2 separate regions of the Homo sapiens genome follow, and region 1 is linked to region 2. The links are contacts of gene promoters, found by promoter capture Hi-C in blood cells and fetal thymus (Javierre and others, 2016). All regions are on one chromosome and are shown on one strand. Each heading gives the region's core, a stretch centred on a gene start or on the middle of the fragment in contact. The rest is flanking DNA. Distances are from core to core; before and after follow the strand shown. Region 1 overlaps PIK3C3 (phosphatidylinositol 3-kinase catalytic subunit type 3). Region 2 holds the start of PIK3C3 (phosphatidylinositol 3-kinase catalytic subunit type 3).

What was found. The method cuts DNA at HindIII sites, captures the fragments that hold promoters and counts their contacts. A CHiCAGO score of 5 or more calls a contact.
Region 1: a contact is called between a fragment that was not itself captured here and the fragment with the promoter of PIK3C3 in region 2, in 1 of 17 cell types (monocytes). The highest score is 6.6, in monocytes.

Annotation. Positions count from the first base shown.
Region 1 is chr18:41,986,597-41,993,253 of GRCh38, forward strand. PIK3C3 (phosphatidylinositol 3-kinase catalytic subunit type 3) reads left to right here. Exons shown (of 25, transcript NM_002647.4): 5 at 1,216-1,302; 6 at 3,863-3,958. Among named protein-coding and RNA genes, the nearest start is that of PIK3C3, 35 kb to the left of the region's middle. The HindIII fragment of the contact is 5,430 bases long and covers 469-5,898 here.
Region 2 is chr18:41,950,162-41,956,773 of GRCh38, forward strand. PIK3C3 (phosphatidylinositol 3-kinase catalytic subunit type 3) reads left to right here and starts at 5,073. Exons shown (of 25, transcript NM_002647.4): 1 at 5,073-5,198. The coding sequence starts at 5,131. RefSeq lists an enhancer at 4,851-5,030. The HindIII fragment of the contact is 3,603 bases long and covers 3,810-6,612 here.

The sequences.
Region 1 (6,657 bases), core at 1,934-4,433, 35 kb after region 2:
ACTCTTTTCTGTAGGTCACATTGTCTGATCTTCTTTTGGTTTCCTTGTGACTATTTCTAGGTCTCTTTCCATGTTGCTAGCATATTTGTCTATTATTCCACCAGAGCCACCACGATATTTAGTTCCTGCTTTTTGTAATCATGCTAAGCTTATTAATAACTTTTCATACATTTTCATATAGAAATTACCTCACATGAAAGGGAATTATTGGAAGAAAGCTAAATTGATATTACTTTTTTTTATTACAATGAACTTCAGACTTTTTGTGTGACATTAGTATTTTTATTTCTGAAATAGTATGACCACATAGTTGTGATGAGTTGAGGAAGAGAAAGAAGATTGATAGTGAAGATTTTTAATTCTGCAAGAGAGATGAAATTGGTGGCAGTGTTTGCTGTTCTTATAGGAAAGCTGTCATGATATGGACAATGAAGCAGAAGAAACTGATATAGATAAGCTACTATGTAAAGCTTTGATGTCCAGTTTTGCTTTATACTGTCAATTTGTTTAGAAGGAATGAGAGGGGTGTTGATTTTTAGTATTACAGTTTCTAATTCAAAACCTGGTTCTAATTTGAGGTCCTTGGAACTTACCAGGAATTCTCTATGGATTTGAAGAGTCAATGAATTATTAAAGTTATAAAACTAAGGTTAGATTGGTATGTAAGACCTCACAGGACTCTACCAACTGCTATTCTAGAAAATTGAAGTCTTTTATCACCGTTGCCTAAAATTAAAGCATACATGCATATGTGTGAGCTTAAACCTTAGAGTATTAATGTGCAAACCCAGAAAAATACCTTATTACCTGTAACTGTCATTTTTTCATGTTGGTTAGATACATTGAAAGATGGGAAGAAAAGAGAAAAAGTGGTTTATTTCCCATTCATGAAACTATTATTATAATTTCATCTCTTTGTAATAGTCAAAATACAAGAAATATAGGAACACGGAGATAATTTCAGGAACAACTTCATTATTCTTTATCATGTCAAAATATGGCAAATTATGGACCTTTTTAAAAAAAATTTAATTGTTTTTCTTTAAAAAATAATGATTTGTCTCTTGCCAAGTTTCTTATCCTGCTAATTGCGTATGGTTTCTATTGTGTATAGGAAAGTATCATATGTGAAGTGTACATTGCCATTCTGACATTTTTGGTCCTTCTTTCTACTAGATGTATATTAAAATTTTCGTCATTGTATTTATTCTGCAGCTCACCAAAGCTCATCGACAAGGACACATGGTGAAAGTAGATTGGCTGGATAGATTGACATTTAGAGAAATAGAAATGATAAATGAGGTGGGTTATATCACTCTTTTATTTTAAAATATTTTCTGTAAATTTTTAAATTAACAATTTTTTGATAAGAATTATTATTAGGTATCTTACAAATATAGGATTATCAGGGTTAACCCCTGTAGCTGGGAATTCTATGCTAATAACTGGAAAATTGGAGATATCAGCCTTCCCTATATTTTAACGTAATGTCAAACTATGAAGTAGGTAGTGGATATTCAAAGATGTTCTAAATATCATATGAGTGAAGCCTATGCAGACTTAATGCCTCAGTGGTGTGTTCTCTGTCATATCAGCTCATGTTCAAGTCAGCGTTGGATAAATCTTCCATCAGCACAGTGCCAGCTTTTCACTTCAGTTACCATAAATCATTTCAGCAAGTTCTCTCTTCAATTAATTTATTACTTGTCTATGTACTACATATAGGACTCCGCACCCTCTATAAAGTTACATGATTTAGGTGATTTTTTTCTTGACCTTGTATGTGAGCCAGTGTGTATGTTTAAATAAAGATGGCTTCAATGAGAGTCCTGCCAAAAGTTGTAACAAGAATAGTTTACTTTTTTGTATATTTGCTCTAAAATGCCAGATGTTAGGCCTAATGTTCCACATCTAGAGAACAGAAACAATAATTATATTAATCAAATTAGGAGAGAAGGACATCAATTTGTGATTTGTCTAATTTATAATGACCATAAGGCACAACTTACTTAATTTATATTCTCCAAATAATTTTCAGCAGGTAGAAAGAGAGAAGTTTTTAATTTTACAGTGAACTATTACAAAAGTTAGATTTTAGCATTATTCTTTTATTTTAAAATAAAGGTAGTGATGTTTAACAACATTTATATTCAATTCTCGTATTTGGTACCTTTTCTAAATTTATTCATAATACATTCCTATATACATAAACTGGAAGGAAGCCTTTTTAATTTTTATAATAGTCACATTTCAAAAAGAGTTTACTCATAATACTAACTTATATTTTTCTCTTCTTAAACTTAGATATCACTGGGTATAGAAAACGTAATGTTAGAGTTTGCCCAGCCTTTTTCATATTTTTACATTTTAATTTCTTTGAAAGAAATTACCATTACCACCGCATTACTATTACAAAATAGACTATAATATGCTTCATAAAGCTGAAGAATTTAAGTAACCTCTTCAGACCTTTATCATTTATTATTTCTTTTTTTTGTTTGTTTTTTTTGGGGGACAAGGTCTTGCTGTGTCACCCAGGCTGGAGTACACTGGTATGCTTAGTGCAGCCACAAACTTCTGGACTCAGGCAGTCCTCCTGATTAGCTTCCCAAGTTGCTAGGACTACAGGCCTGGCTAATATTTTTAAAATTTTTTGTAGAGTCAGGGTCTGGCTATATTGCCCAGGATAGTCTCAGACTCCTGGCTTCAAGCAGTCCTCCCACCTCCCAACGTGCTAGGATTACAAGTGTGAGCCACCATGCCTGGTGATTTTATGTTTTAGATGTAAAGCCATTTATAAAGGTGTTTTGGGTCAAGGCTAATCACCCGCTTAGACTTCATTGTATTTTCACTTTATCATCACCTTAGTATAGTCATGTGCCTCATCATATCATTTCAGTCAACTGCAGATCACATGTACAATGATGGTTCCGTAAGATTATAGTACTTTATTTTTACTGTACTTTTTCTCTTTTAGGTATGTTTAGATACACAGATACCTAACTATTGTGTTACAGTTGCCCACAGTATTCAGTACAGTAACCTGAAGTAACAAGTTTGTAGCCTAGGGGTAATATGCTACACCATATAACCTCGGTGTGCTATAGGCTATACCATCTAGATTTGTGTGTTTACATTTCATGATGTTTACACGACTAAATTGCTTAATGATGCATTTCTCAGAATGTACACCTGTCGTTAAGTGACATGTGACCATGTTTGCTTTTTTATTTTAAAGGGGACACAATTATATAAATAACTTTTTTTTATGTTGGAACAAGAAGTAATTATTCCGCAGTATATTTAAAGTGTGGATAAAAATTTACAAATGACAAATCATTTTAAGACCATTTATAAATTGCGAAAAACTTGTAAAGGCTATACTTGGTAAACTCAAATGGCCTCTGTTCTTAGGTTGCACACTTTTCTTCCTTTTGATTTTTGTTACACATATTGATTTCTATGGTTTAGTCATATAAGTTAAGGGTGAACTTAGCTTAAAATTGTTAGAAGGAAAAACCATTCTTTTTATTTTTGAAATAAAATAGTTCTCATGAACATGTGTGCAAAATACCTTCAAGATTATAAACCCAAACTACTGAATAAACCAAAAATGTTAAATTTGAGAAAGCAGTTATAAGTGCATAGTAGACACTACTGAATAAACAGTAGTGCTGTCTATAATAAAATAATAGTGCTGTGTAAAACACACTACATGTATATAATAAAATAAAAATGTGTTATGTTTTGACTTGTATTTGATAGATACATGTATTACTGAATTAGGAAAAATGATACATACTGATCCTTTAAGAGAATGTTGAAAATAATCATTTTTCATGAAAATCATTTTTTTTTTCAGAGTGAAAAACGAAGTTCTAATTTCATGTACCTGATGGTTGAATTTCGATGTGTCAAGTGTGATGATAAGGAATATGGTATTGTTTATTATGAAAAGGTATTTCCCTTGGAACTGTTTTTGGTCTCTAAAGTAGAGGGGAGAGGAAACATTAAAAAAATATTGTTGTTCCTGCTGGGATGAATTATTTGGTTGCAGGGTAGCAGCAGACAGCTGTCAGCAGCAGCTGTTTATGTATACAGAAATCAAATCATATAACTACAACAAGATTACAAAAGCCTATCACTCATGTAATGCAGTTCTGGGTTACAGAATTCAATAAGTATGCAAGTGATTAAAAACTTTGTGATTAATTGTTCTGCAAATTGGCAAGTAGGACACTAAGTAATGGCTTCATTTACTAATATTATTTATTTAAAAAATGAAAGGGGGAAATTATATTTCTAAGTGGTAGGCTATTTATTGAAAGTTAAGAGTCTGTTTGTTATTTGAGTGTATGTGTAATGTCTATATGTGGCCCTCACTGAAGTATACTTATGAAATACTTCAGAAATGTCCATTTGTACAATAGATGCAAAATTAAGACAATTTTACCATCAGGCTGGGTAATAACAAATATGCAGTTATAGATTTGCTTTGTTCTGCCCATTATGCTACAGAAAGTAGTTCTGTGTTTATTATGTACCTACTTGAAAGTATCTTCCTTAAATGCTTGTAGAAGGTGCTTCATTTAAGTACTACAGAAATAATTATATATTTAAGTACTACAGAAAATAATTGTATGCAGGCCAGGTGTGGTGGCTCATGCCTGTAATTCCAGCACTGTGGTTGGCTGCGTGGGAAGATTACTTGAGCCCAGGAGTTTGAGACCCGCCTGGGCAACATGGCGAGACTCCATCTTTATTTAAAATAAATATAAAAAAAAATGTATGCATAGTTTGAAACCACATAAAGTATCTTCTATTATTGTGTTAATAGTCAACAAATGTTAAATCAGCATAAATGATGACAGACTTTTGATACATGGCATAGTAGTAGATTAATATTTCTTCTAGCATATGACCAAGCTGATATGCAGTGTATTTGTTCATTAGAAGCAGTCCTTTTAAATTAAATTTACATTTTATTGTTGTTTATTAAAGCTGTCACAAGTGATTTTTAAAATATGTATACTTTTATAAATTACTATTTGAAAGGTTTTCATAATGAAGGTTTGAGTTTTTACAGTTTATTTATGATCTTTTTTCAAGTTACTGTTCATATTTTTGTCTTTAACTCATATCCCTTTCACGTTAGTGAAAGACTAGGAAGTGTTAACTTGTTTCTGCCTTTTATTTTATAAATGGTACTCCTTGGATAGATTATTTAACATTGTTTATTAATTTATTAGAAAAAATACATCAAAACAAGGGAAATGTGAGTGAAACTGTTCTGTCACCAGTGCATTTTAATAAAATCATATTTTACATTTTAAACTATATGTCATTTCATTAAAGGCAGTATTTTCTGCCCATATAGAGTTTGTATTGCAAAAACATGCTAATGGAGATGGTACTTTCAAACACTGGAGATGTGAAGGATCCTTTGAAAGACAGCTTGATAGCAGATGAAATAATAACAGAATAGAAATTAGAAGAATTTCAAGTATTTTTGAAAAGGTTCTTGACCCCTTTCTACCACTTCCTGAAAATTGCTCATAAATTAATGCCTGTCTACCCACCCTGTCATATTTCCACTTAGTGTAAAGATTGCTGGGCCAGTGTATTGAATCTAATGGAAATAGACTTTCTTGTCACCTGTCTTGTGACAGATAGCCTTAGTGAAGATTACTTGTCACAGCTAGGCTGATAAATGTGTTTTCTGGTGTTGTGACTGAGAACAAGCCTGTTAAACAACGGCTGTGGGAATTTGTGGTTTTCTGTAAGACTCAATTACTGAACTGAAGTAAAGTTACAGTGCTTCCCCGCTTTCAGTCTCTCTTGAGTTTGTTGCCCATATTTAAAATTGAAAACATACTAGCATTTGGAAATTGACAGAAAAGCTTGATGCTAAATATACAGTCATGAGAAAGTGAATTTTGACCTTAATTAGTTTAGCCTTTTTCCAGTATATTTGGCAGTGACATTTTTATGTTGAATTACCTTTCTCACATTGGAGAAAAATAAAAGCCAACATTCTTCAAAGGTGATAATACCAACAAAATAGGATGGCTTTATTTCTGAAAAACTGATTGATTGATTTTATTATTCAAGTTTAGATTATGTTGAGCAGGTGTCCCTTTGAGAAACAACGTTGTTGATTCTCTAGCTGTGTGTAAATTTGAGTAATATTAACCCTACACTTAAAATTCTGCTTCTTTGAATGGATCTCCATTATGATACCTTGAAAAATTACCAACATCCACTTAGTTTTTGCAAATGATGCAACACATCCATTGTGCCACATTTTACATATAGTCTGTGGTTTCTTGTTCTGAGTTTGAAAATTAGCACGTTTTTAAAAATCCACTGTCATTATATGAACGAAGTTTAAAAAAAAGGAACAACTCGAAACAATCTAATTTCCAGACCTCATACCTCTAAAACTTTAGTAAGAATTTTGTTAGAGTTTTTCTCAAAACAATTTCATAATCAACCAAGGAGAGGTACAAAGTGGACATGCATTTTATAATATTGTTAGAAGAAGATAAGGATTTCTTTAAAGGGAAGAATGATGTTCATCAAATAGAATTAAAATACATTGATGTGTACATCATATACTGCTTCCTATTGTATTAAATTTCTTTTTTTAAAAAATTA
Region 2 (6,612 bases), core at 3,823-6,322:
CAAGTACTATTTTATTTCCTACTTTCCTTATTTTCAACATGTGTTCTACACCAGGAACTAAAGTAGACAATACGGTAAGTGGTGTATTAGTCTGCTCAGGCTGCTATAACAAATTACCATAGTAAGGGGGCGGGGGCTTAAACTACAAACATTTATTTCTCACATTTCTAGCAGCTAGCTGTCTGAGATCAGGGTGCCAGCATGGTTGGGTTCAGGTGAAGGCCTTCTTCGGGGTTGCAGACTGCTGACTTCTCATTGTATCCTCACAAGGCAAGAATGCAAGAGAGCTCTCTGGCCAGCTTTCATAAGGATACTAAACCAGTTCATGATGGCTCCACCCTCAAGATCTAATTACCTCCTAAAGGCCCTGTCTCCAAATATCTTAGTATCAGGGATTTAATTTTAACATGTAAATTTTGGAGAGCACAAACATTCAATCCATAAAAAGTAGTAAATAAAATTGACACAAACCATTTCCTCACAGAGCTCACAGTCTAGTGGGTCAGACAGCAATCAACCAAACTATTATGACAGACACTCTTGGAAGTGCTGTGAAAGAAGAATACGAGGAGGAATAGATTTTTGAATGACTTGGTTTAACTAGTGTTGTGGGAGGAAGGTGGCATCAGAAGAGGCTTCCTTGAAGGAGTAATCTTAGGCTTGCAATGCATAAGTCTAATAGAAGTTCCTTTGGTAGGAGTCAGGAAGAAAAATGGAGACTTTCCCAGAGGCTAGCACAGTTTTTAAAAGGTCTAAACTTGATAGGGCCTAGAGTTCTTGACTACACTAAGTCTAGAGAGCTTGAACAGTACCACATGAGCCAGAACATGAAAAACCTTTTAACACCGTGTTAGGAATTATATGCTTCCAGCTGTATGTAACAGAAAGATTTTTAAAAAATGAAAGTGGCTTAATTTGTAAACATAATTATTGCTTACACAATAAGAAACCCAGATTATTAGTCTGTTTCCACACTGCTATAAAGAAATGCCCAAGACTAGGGAGCTTTGTTATTATGTAACAGAGATATTACAAAGGAACACATATGCAAGTATAATTTTATTATTTTTCAGAATAACTTATGCTTTTATTCTTTCCCTTTTGCAGCTATATAAATTACCTTTTTGAATGGAACCCCCGACCCAGGCCTTGGGGGTTCCTGCATTAGGATCATTCATGGATATTCATTAAGCCCATTTTTTTTCACATTGTCAGCTGAGAAATGGCCAAGACTTTTGAATTATTAGTTAGGATTTTTCAAGTGCCTTAGCACTGTTGTCTGTTCTAGCATGTGATTGAGTTCTAAAACACAGTTATTAGAAAACTCACAAAGGCATTTTTTAATTAGAAAAAAAGGAATTATGAGATAGATTTAATCTCACAGCATCATACTTGTTTATTCTTGATGGGAGCTCAGTAACAGACTGTTGCTTTGTAAAGTTATCAGTGCATTTAAAAAAATTTCCAAGCAAAGGGAATAAATTGGGTTATAGAAACTGGCAAAAATAAACCTGATTATCATTATGTCAGTCCTGGGCAATTGAAGAAATGGAGGTCAGGCATGGTGGCTCACGTCTGTAATACTAAACTTTTGGGAGGTTGAGGAGGGAGGATTGCTTGAGCCCAGGAGTTCGAGATCAGCCTGGGCAACACAGTAAGCCCCTATCTCTACAAAAAAAATTTAAAAAGTAGCCAGGCATGGTGGTGCGTGCCTGTAATCCCAGCTGTTCAGGAGGCTAAGGTGGGAGGATTGCTGGAGCCCAGGAGGTTGAGGCTGCAGTAAGCTGTGATTGCACCACTGCACTCCAGCCTGGGCAACAGAGCAAAACTTCGATTCAGGAAAAAGGAAAGGAAGGGAAGGGAGGGGAAGGGAAGGGAAGGGAAGGGAAGGGGGAAGGAAGGAAGGAAGGGAAGGAAAGAAAGGAAGGAAGGAAGAAATGGGGCACAATCAACACATTTCTAAGCCATCATTAAAACTGGTTACTAGAATAATTAAAATAGAAATTGAAACAAGGTGGCAAAAGAAGCACAAAGCCAAAACTGCAACTCCAAGGGAAAATTAAATATGGGATCATATAATAATCATTGGAAGAGCCTACCACACCAAGAAAACACCTATTTCTGTAAGTTATTTTTCTGCAGACAGGCCACCGTGGACTCTTGCAATGCAAATTGTATCCCATAATTATGAGCGTATGTTATATTCATGATTCATGAAAATCACATGGGAAGGAAAAAATCATTCCTCTCCTTTCAAAATAAGATGCTTAAGGCTTCCTTTTCTCTTATAGAGATGGCCTTGTTAATTGAATTCTGATACTCAAGTCTACCAACCAACACTTCCCTGACTTACAGTACAAAAGGCACTGAGAGTTTTGGTTTCTATAATAATTCTTTCCATGCTTCCATGACTTACCAAAATCTTGCTCCTTATTGGCACATTAGTTTTCCTTGATGTATTAACATATTTAATACAACTACAGTCAAGTTTTCTGAGATCCCTCTATAATACATTTTTAATGTTATTTTTTTCTCTTGATAATCTTTAAAAAGTTAAATCTATTTTGGGTTCTGTGAATGAATATCTTATAACTAAGTACTGACATTTGATTTTCATGCTTTTATCTGTGTTGTGTTTGCAACTGTTTTGGAAACAATCAGTATTACTTTAATTGTTATGAGCTAATGAGAAAAGGACAAAGTCAGGCTTAAAACAAAAAGATGTGTTGTAGGCAAGATAAAGCCAGAATACATCATGGTGGTTACACTCATGAAGAGTTCATAGTTATTTGAATAGAGAAAAAGAGTCTAGAAAAATGAATTGCCCTGTGGAATATAGCAGTATAGACGTGCTGAATTTCAAAGAATCAGTCCTGTAAGAGTAGCCAACACTATATTCCATAATCATTTTGCAAACAACAGTTTCCGTAAAAAATCCCACTATTATATTAAGATTGTTAATTTGAAGTTTTTATATTTAATTTGTAAATTTGTTTGGTTGTATATGTATATAATATTATCTTAGGTTTATACATTAAATACCATTACATAATGAAAGTAATTTATTCACCACTGGGATCAGATAATTTACTCCTTTACACATTGTCAATATTTTATTCAAGATTGAGGTTTCACATCAAACCTCACACTCATTGCTGGAGTTATGCCTTAAACAGAGTACTTGTGACAACAGTGTTACTGTTGAATGGCTGTGATAATTAGAAAGTTCAATTTGTATTGTTTGTTGAAATTACATTTCCTGTAAGTTCCAACCATTGGTGGCAGTTATTCTTAGGAACAAATCAAAGGTGCTCTTTTTGTTTAAACTTTAAGTTATAGGAGGATAACTATCATGTTTTTCTTTATTCTACCCAAATCCTTTTCTTGCCTCCATAAATATTTTTGAGAACTTATTTTGTGTAAAACATTCTGCATTAGCCATTTTTTTTCCTTTTCCAGGTTAAACAGCTCCACACCTTTCACCCTTTCTTGGAAATATTTTTTTTCTAATCCCTCAACATTCTAATTACGCCATTTTGCACATACTTTAGTGATGTCCGTCTTAAAATGCAGCACTTAGAAATAAAGACATAGGCTGGGCGAGGTGGCTCACGCCTGTAATCCCAGCACTTTGGGAGGCCGAGGAGGGCGGATCACGAGGTCAGGAAATCGAGACCATCCTGGCTAACACGGTGAAACCCTGACTCTACTAAAAAATACAAAAAATTAGCCGCGCGTGACGGCGGGCACCTGAAGTCCCAGCTACTTGGGGGGCTGAGGCAGGAGAATGGCATGAACCTGGGAGGTGAAGCTTGCAGTGAGCCGAGATCGCGCCACTGCACTCCAGCCTGGGCAACAGAGAGACGGGCACTCCAGCCTGGGCAACAGAGCGACTCTGTCTCAAAAAAAAAAAAAAAAAAAAAAAAAGAAATGACATAGCAGTTTGGGAGGCCAGGGCAGGCAGATCACTGGAGGTTAGGAGTTTGAGACCCGACTGGCCAACATGGTGAAACCCCATCTCTATTAAAAATACAAAAATTAGCCTGACTGGGTGGCGGGTGCCTGTAATCCCAGCTACTTGGGAGGCTGATGCAGGAGAATCGCTTGAACCCAGGAGATGGAGGTTGCAGTGAGCCGAGATGGTGCCAGCCTGGGCGACAATAGCAAAACTCCATCTCAAAAAAAAAAAAAAAAAAGAAATAAAGGCATAGAAAATGGAGACTTTCATTCAATATCATCATTAATAACCAGTAAGTAGGAAGTATTAAACTCAGCAATGCATTAGACAGCTAGCGGGGCAAGACACGGAAGTAAATGGCACACTGGTCTTACCTTCCAAGAGTTTTCAATCTAATTGGAAGGGAGTATTACAATTTTAGATTATAATAATTATAAAAACAAACATTATAGGAGCTCAGAGGGTTTAGAGATCTGTGTTCTGTAGTTATTACAGGAGGCCTCTAGATTCTAACTTGGGTTAGGGCTTGAAACTACATTGAATTTGAATATTCCCAGTTTAAACATGCACGCAAGTATTATGTCCAAAGTAGCATGAATACTGACAACACCAAACATGAAACCCAGATTTATTTATTCTCTATTTAGTCCTTTCCCTACTCTTTAGAGCAGAAAGAGAAAATCCTTGCTTGAGATAGCAAATTAGTGCTACACTTTTTGGGAAGGCCACTGGAATTTAAACCTGGCAAAATTCCAATTTTTGTGCTTGTAACCTGTTTAGCCGGCAGCCAGTGAAAGCTGTTATAATTCTTTTTGAATTGAATTTTCTTTCGTATTGTTTTAGGTACAGCTCAAGCTCAAATGATAGCGTCTCTTTTTCTTTAAAAAAAAAAAAAAGTGCTGTCAAGACAGGAAAACTGGAATGTAACCAGATTAGCCGTTTCCCGTATACATTTGCCCTTAAGCAAGATGGTGGGCGCCTTGTGCACATGCGCGGAAGGGTTGTTTCGGCGGGGAGTTCCGCCGCGTCGGAACTCGCTCCGGGCGTGGATTGGCGGCTTGCTGGCGGGGGCGGAACCGGAAGTTCCGTGTTGTGGGGCTCAGCTGGTTCATTTATGTTGTTTTTCCTGTACCTAAGTTCCCGCTGTAGGTGGTACCTTTGCAGACGGTGCGATGGGGGAAGCAGAGAAGTTTCACTACATCTATAGTTGTGACCTGGATATCAACGTCCAGCTTAAGATGTAAGAGAACACTCGGGACAGGGAGTGGGATTGCTGGGGCGTAGGGACGTGGGGGCAGGGGCCTGTTGGGAGTGAGAGGCAGAAAGTACGTGACTCGTCTCAAGGCCCAGATTGGGGGCGGCTGTGAGGGCTGTAGCCAGGGAGGCGCGAGAGAGTGGATCGTGGAGAGGGGCTCTTTTGGAAAAGGATTTAATACGTGGTCTCCGTGAGAAGCACAGCAGTAGGAATAGCCCTTAAGTTCCGCTGTATTTTACAGTCTTTAAAGTTTTTGCTGTTCAGCCTTTTGAGAGTTTATTACTATTTCATTGTAAATTAAGAAATCAAGTCTCGTCGTAAGTAAGAGGACGATCTTTATTTTGGAACGGGGCTTGTAGGGTGGAATGAAGGCTTCAGAAATTATGGAGAGGTAGACACAGGCAGATGCGATAGTTGAGAATAAGATGAGCACATGGTGTATTAGCACGGGAGGTGATAGAGGCCTAGAGTGAATCTTTGGGTAGTATGGCAGTGTTTAGTCAGGGAAGTTGGGAGTAAGTCGAAGATGAGGGTTCCAGTTTCAAAGGTACCAAGAAGATAGGAGAAAAGAGTCTTTGCAGGAAAACGTTGGGGCACCACGGCTGAAGTAAAGGTCAAGGGCGTGATATCTTGAGATGAGGATAATAGAACTGGTATAATGACGAGGGATGCACAAGACAGAGTTGGAAATTATGTCCCTTTTAAGGTGGTCATGTAGGAGTGTTGTCAAAGCTATCACAAATTATTGACCATAGCATCATCCATAATTAATAAACATTTCTTGTGTATGTTCAATTAATATTCAACAAATATGTGTCGGTCAAAGGCCTGCAGTAAGTGATAGATAAATTTTCTCAGTTGTCTGATGTACCTTTGAATGATCATTTCATTTTATTTTCAGAAGTCCCTTATTCGCTGACAAATACTTTACTTTTTAGTTTGTGGTGGTGGTGGTAAAAGTAATATGTCAACAACCACCTTGTACCTTTGTATGATACTTTATACACTCATTTAAGGTATTTTCCATAGCATACACCACTAGTAGTTTATACAGGATCAATATTGATAAAGGGCTTTCCTTCAGCTTGATGCTCAGTATTTCTTGGATATATGAATGCATTTTTTGAAATGTTTGAACATTAAAAATAAAGAAAAAGCCAAAAAAACCGGTCCCTTTTTTTTTTTTTTTTTTTTTTGGAGACAGGGTCTCACTCTGTCTCCTTTCCCTTTGGGATGACGTTCTGCTTCTTTTGCTTCAACTCTCATGCATTGTTCAGGATCATTTCAGACATCTATCTGGGGTACTAAGTCCCTTCCCCATGCCAGCCTAAGTACTCTTGAGACTCTGATTTATCTTACTGTAATGGGAAGAATATTGGCTTTGGCCTCCCTGCCCTAG